Regions from separate parts of the Homo sapiens genome. Here region 2 is linked to region 1. Evidence: promoter capture Hi-C in 16 types of primary human blood cells and fetal thymus (Javierre and others, 2016). All regions are on one chromosome and are shown on one strand. Each heading gives the region's core, a stretch centred on a gene start or on the middle of the fragment in contact. The rest is flanking DNA. Distances are from core to core; before and after follow the strand shown. Region 1 overlaps NIT2 (nitrilase family member 2). Region 2 holds the start of NXPE3 (neurexophilin and PC-esterase domain family member 3).

Region 1 (2,895 bases), core at 1-2,500:
ATGTGTAGGAGAGGAAGCCATCAGCGTAGCCATGGTGAGCTTTATCTTTCCCACCCTCGGAAGCACAGACATGGCCCGGCACGTGGCTCACGCCTGTAATCCCAACAGTTTGGGAAGCTGAGGCACGAGGATCGCTTGAGTTCACGAGTCAAGAGTTGGAGACCAGCCTGGGCAACATGGCGACACCTTGTCTGTACTAAAAAATACAAAATTAGCCCGGTGTGGTGGCACGCCCCTTTAGTCCCAAACTACTTGGGAAGCTGAGGAGGGAGAATGGCTTAACGCTGGGAAATGGAGGGGAGACGTTTAGTGGATTTATCTGCTGTTCTGATAACAGCTCAAAATATCTGTTTGCCCCAGAATAATCCCAGCTTTTATTTCCTGTTTTAGTTTCCCTTCAGATTCTATAACTATTTAGCAGGCTGCCTTCAGGGTTAAATTTAGTGCTTCTCACTATATTTAGGATAGATCAAGGAATGGGACATCTGAGTTTTCCTTTTAGTTAACCCTGAGCCAAACAGGCCTTCATCAGAGGCCAGGGTTTGTCATTGTTGCCTTTTCTGGAGACATTTGCGTTGTTACAGGAAACACCCAAAAGAGATAGCTCTCTAATGGTAGGATTTTCAGACTCTGGAGCAGAGGTGGGATGGGAAGTTCGGGCAGGCCATTACTAATTGAAGGGGTGGGTTGCCCCTCCACACCTGTGGGTGTTTCTCGTTAGGTGGAACGAGAGACTTGGAAAAGAAAAAGACACAAACAAAGTATAGAGAAAGAAGTAGGGGGGCCCAGGGGACCAGCGTTCGGCATACGGAGGATCCCGTCGGCCTCTGAGTTCCCTTAGTATTTATGATCATTCTTGGGTGTTTCTCGGAGAGGGGGATGTGGCAGGGTCATAGGATAATAGTGGAGAGAAGGTCAGCAGATAAACACGTGAACAAAGGTCTCTGCATCATGAACAAGGTAAAGAATTAAGTGCTGTGCTTTAGATATGCATACACATAAACATCTCAATGTCTTAAAGAGCAGTATTGCTGCCCGCCTGTCCCCCTTCCAGCCCTAAGGCGGTTTTCCCTATCTTAGTAGATGGGACATAGAATCGGGTTTTATACCGAGACATTCCGTTGCCCAGGGACGGGCAGGAGACAGATGCCTGCCTTCCTCTTGTCTCAACTGCAAAGAGGCGTTCCTTCCTCTTGCACTAATCCTCCTCAGCACAGACCCTTTACGGGTGTCGGGCTGGGGGACGGTCAGGTCTTTCCCTTCCCACGAGGCCATATTTCAGACTATCACATGGGGAGAAACCTTGGAGAATACCTGGCTTTCCTAGGCAGAGGTCCCTGCGGCCTTCCGCAGTGTTTGTGTCCCTGGGTACTTGAGATTAGGGAGTGGTGATGACTCTTAAGGAGCATGCTGCCTTCATGCATCTGTAACAAAGCACATCTTGCACAGCCCTTAATCCATTTAACCCTGAGTGGACACAGCACATGTTTCAGAGAGCTCGGGGTTGGGAGTAAGGTTATAGTTTAACAGCATCTCAAGGCAGAAGAATTTTTCGTAGTACAGAACAAAATGGAGTCTCCTATGTCTACTTCTTTCTACACAGACACAGTAATAATCTGATCGCTCTTTCTTTTCCCTACACTAATAATTCCTGAAGTTTTGCAGAGCTTCATAGATTATAATGTGCTTTGGATCCTTTACTGCTGCGTCCCACCAGACCATAAGCAGGAACTATGTATCCATCAGGGTCCAGACAGGACATGGAAACAACACTAGTAACTCGAACAAGGAAAATTATTTATTTATTTATTTATTTTTTTGGAGACTGAGTCTCACTCTGTCGTCCAGGCTGGAGTGCAGTGGCGCGATCTTGGCTCACTGTAACCTCCAACTCCCAGGTTCAACTGATTCTCCTGCCTCAGCCTCCTGAGTAGCTGGGATTACAGGTGCCCACCACCACACCTGGCTAATTTTTGTATTTTTAGTAGAGACGGGGTTTCACCACGTTGGCCAGGCTGGTCTGAAACTCCTGACCTCAGGTGATCACCTGCCTTGGCCTCCCAAAGTGCTGGGATTACAGGCGTGAGCCATCACACCCGGCGGAAAATTTTATATAAAAAATTATTATCTGGCCAGGCGTGGTGGCTCATGCTTATAATCGCAGCAGTTTGAGAGGCTGAGGCAGGAGGATCGCTTGAGCCCAGGAGTTCGAGACCAGCCTGGGCAACAAAGTGAGACCCTGTCTCTACAAAAAATTACATAATTAAAAAATTAGCCCGGCATGGTGGTGCATACCTGTGGTCCCAGCTACATAAGAGGCTGAGACAAGAGGATTGCCTGAACTGAGTAGGTCAAGGCTGCAGTGGACCATGTTTGTGCCACTGCACTCCAGCCTAGGCGACAGAACAAGGCCCTGCCTCAAAATAAAAAATATTAGCTAATGGAAAGTGATTATCATAAAAGCTAAAAGGGAACTTTAAAGAACAGAAGAAAAGCAAATATGATGTATAGCTACTACCTCCAGGAAGAAATAAGCTTGGAAGAGCCCCCAACCTCCTTGCTCCAGGGCTGAGCACAGACCTTGTCAGGGCTGGCTACATAATTTGTGGGGCCCAGTTCCCTTGTTCAGATAGCAAGAGAAAAGTGCTGTTAGCTTTTCCTTCTGCAGTATCTCTTTCAACCTCTCATGGTGTTATTTGCTGTTTAATATCATGTTCTCTTGGACACATGAATACTTATGGGGTAAGTGCAGACTTTTAGAGGTGCCTGGGACCCCTGTCCTGTGAATAGGCATGTGTGCAGCTCACTGGCTGCCAGGTTTTCCCTCTGCCAGCAGCGGGATCGATGTGCTGTGACCCAGCCAGTAGTGGGGAAACTGAGACAGACATCTTCCCT
Region 2 (3,021 bases), core at 296-2,795, 1.4 Mb after region 1:
CTAAGTATTTTACCACTTGTAAGACAGCCAAGCTGTACATGAGGCGGGGGATCCTACTGGGAGATAAAGCATAATCAGAGCAGAAGTCTAGTATATGAGGCTCTTCTTCGATAGCAGAAGGAAGCTACCCTTTTATGTCCTCAAAAGGTCCCAGAGTGCTGTATTTCCTCGAGGAAGAAGGAGTATCAGATCATTACTACAATGGTTGAACTAGTTTACAGTCCCACCAACAGTGTAAACGTGTTCCTACTTCTCCACATCCTCTCCACCACCTGTTGTTTCCTGACTTTTTAATGATCGCCATTCTAACTGGTGTGAGATGGTATCTCATTGTGGTTTTGATTTGCATTTCTCTGATGGCCAGTGCTGATGAGCATTTTTTCATGTGTTTGTTGGCTGCATAAATGAACACTTGGACACAGGAAGGGGAACATCACACACCTGGGCATGTTGTGGGGTAGGGGGAGGGGGGAGGGATAGCATTAGGAGATATACTTAATGTAAATGACGAGTTAATGGGTGCAGCATACCAACATGGCACATGTATACATATGTAACAAACCTGCACGTTGTGCACATGTACCCTAGAACTTAAAGTATATTAAAAAAAAAAAAAAGAAGATCATTACTACAGAAGAGATCTTCCACCCTGTGGCAGAACTTCCTTTTATCCCATTCACGGATCTGGTTGCCCACGAAGCAGGCCTGCCATGAAAACATCTGAATGAGCATGCAGAGTCCATTATGGTCAAGAAATGGAAAAATACTTAGTTGTCATGTACATTAATTATTTTTCTTAAACCTTGGGGTAATAGTCCGGGGGCAGGCCTGCTTTTGGGGCCTGTGTTAACCCCACTGTGCTCCAAGCACAGAGAAACACGGTGCAGCCCACAATTCCTTCTGGTTTCTTGAACAAGTGTCTTCTCAGGACTCCTCTCAGTTCCTGAATTTCACAAAACTGCTACCGACGTTTTACCAGTTAGAAAAATGTCCAAAATAGGATAACCCAGAATTGGGGATGGTGGAGGGTGAGGAAAGTATGCTTTGCCAAGAGACCGACATCATGTACAGTGAGAGTAAAAGGAACGGGCTGTTTTACTGGCGAGTAGAAGTTGTTGACTAATGTCAAAGCAAGGAAAAGATTCAAGGATCCGCTATATCCGTGCTTATACTTGGCAAATCGCATTTCTCTGGTTCAGGGCACAATAAATTCCATCACTCCACAGGAAAGACTGCCCTACTAGAGTCAACTGCGGTTGTGGGCACTTTCGCTGACAAGCGAAAAGCCTTGAGGTAGGTGGATGCTCCCAGGAAACTCAGACGTCCGAAGTTCACGAGGAGTTGGGTCGTGAGAGGGGCCAGACCTCGATCCGCGGGGCGACAGCTGCAGTGTCGCGTCGCGAGCAGGAGCTTGGCGGCGTAGAGCGCCAGGGTGCCAACTTCGCTTCCAGGCCTGTGGGTTCCGCCCGGCGCGTGCTGCTGTCAGTCAACGCCCTCGGCCCGCCCCCGCCGAAGCTCCACCAATCGTAGCCGGGGGTCGGAGGTGAGGAGACGTCGCCGGGTGAGGAAGCGGGGGGCTAGCGGCCTGGCGCTGCGGCGACCGACCGGGGCGTCAGGATCCCTGGCCCCCGGAGAGCGAAGGGCGGGCGGGTCCCGGAGGTGAGTGCTGGATGTGGTCTGTGTGCGGACGTCGGGAGGGGCCGCTGCGGGCGGAGCGACCCATTGCCCGGCTCTGCCAGCGCGCTCCTAGACTGCGAAGCCCCTCCCTCCGCGCGCATCTGCTCCCGAGTCCCCAGCCCCGTGCTGATAGGTGCAGCCCCTGGAGTCGTGGCTGTGGGCATAGGTGCCAGGGAGGGGAGGCCCGGGTCGAAGGCATAGGCAGAATTGGAGCCCTGGGTTGCCAAAGCGTCGCAGCTAAGAAGCCGGAGCCCAGGCTAGTACCGGCGGGGCGGGGCGGGGCGGGGCCGGGAGCGAGCATCTCCATCCTCAGTTTCCTCCACTTGCGGCAACGCCACAGCTCGGTACAGTTCGGACCTCCACGCCGCAGCGAAAGACTTCTGTCCTCCAGGCACCTTCACTAACCCGGTGCGGAGCACTTGGCGACGCCTCCCTGCCCATCTCATATCTCTCGGCTCATCGCTGCTCTGGGCACCAGCTGCCTCTTGGCTGGCGCTGCTGTCACACGGTGGACTGTTCTGGCCTTACTGAGCTGCCGTTTGGGGACATCAGATTCAGGTCGTATGGGGAGAAACGAGTGTAACTTTACAAGGTGTGATATGGAGACCCTGGCCTGTTGCCCATTTCTGCCTGATCAAAGGCCACTAGGGTGGTAATAAGAGGGGTTCCGAGGCAGGATTTATGCAGCATTTGTGCAAAATTGTAAATTTTCTTTGCTTTTCATTATTTACATTAAAGGGGGATTGTTGCCACATTTCCTAAAGATAAAGAATCACACTGCTTTGGTGGGCCTCCCCGCTCCTCACTGTGGTTAATTATCATTTGGAACATCAGGATATATTTGAAACTGGCAGGACTCCCAGACCCTGATAATTGTTTGGAGGCAGCAGTATACTATTTCTCCGTAGTGTTTGGGTTCTGCTTTTCTTTGAATTTGTTTAGTATTTTTTTTTCCATGTCTGTTATCCTCACAATCTCTTTGGGGCCAATAGAGTGCTGTTATTTGTTACTGAGAAAGGAAACGAAGGGATAAATCACTGAAGTGGGGTTAGCCTTCCCCATTGCCTGGGAATTGGGTTGTCCTGACCTGACAATTTAAGTTACAATTCAAACATCATTTTGGAAAGGCCATCCTTTTACCAACTGAAACGAATAACAGTCCCTGGCCACTCTATACTAGTGGTTCTCCCACTTGGCTGTATGTTGTAATCATCTAGGGACCTTTTTAAAAAAAGCTACTTCTTGGGCCTATTCCTACAGATTCTGATTTAATTGTTTGAGTGGGGCCCAGTTGTTTGTATTTTAAAAAGCTTCCACGATGATTATTAATGTTCATGCAGGGTT

The links. Contacts are between HindIII fragments. The CHiCAGO score rates a contact against its expected background, and 5 or more counts as called.
Region 2: the fragment with the promoter of NXPE3 here is called in contact with a fragment that was not itself captured in region 1 in 1 of 17 cell types (non-activated CD4 T cells); the score reaches 6.3 in non-activated CD4 T cells.

The regions. Positions count from the first base shown.
Region 1 is chr3:100,335,651-100,338,545 of GRCh38, forward strand. The region is part of intron 1 of NIT2 (nitrilase family member 2); the gene reads left to right. Among named protein-coding and RNA genes, the nearest start is that of NIT2, 2.3 kb to the left of the region's middle. RefSeq lists a silencer at 1-129. The HindIII fragment of the contact is 2,566 bases long and covers 1-2,533 here.
Region 2 is chr3:101,777,666-101,780,686 of GRCh38, forward strand. NXPE3 (neurexophilin and PC-esterase domain family member 3) reads left to right here and starts at 1,546. Exons shown (of 8, transcript NM_145037.4): 1 at 1,546-1,659. RefSeq lists enhancers at 1,360-1,654, 2,219-2,268 and a silencer at 1,459-1,808. The HindIII fragment of the contact is 3,350 bases long and covers 1-2,985 here.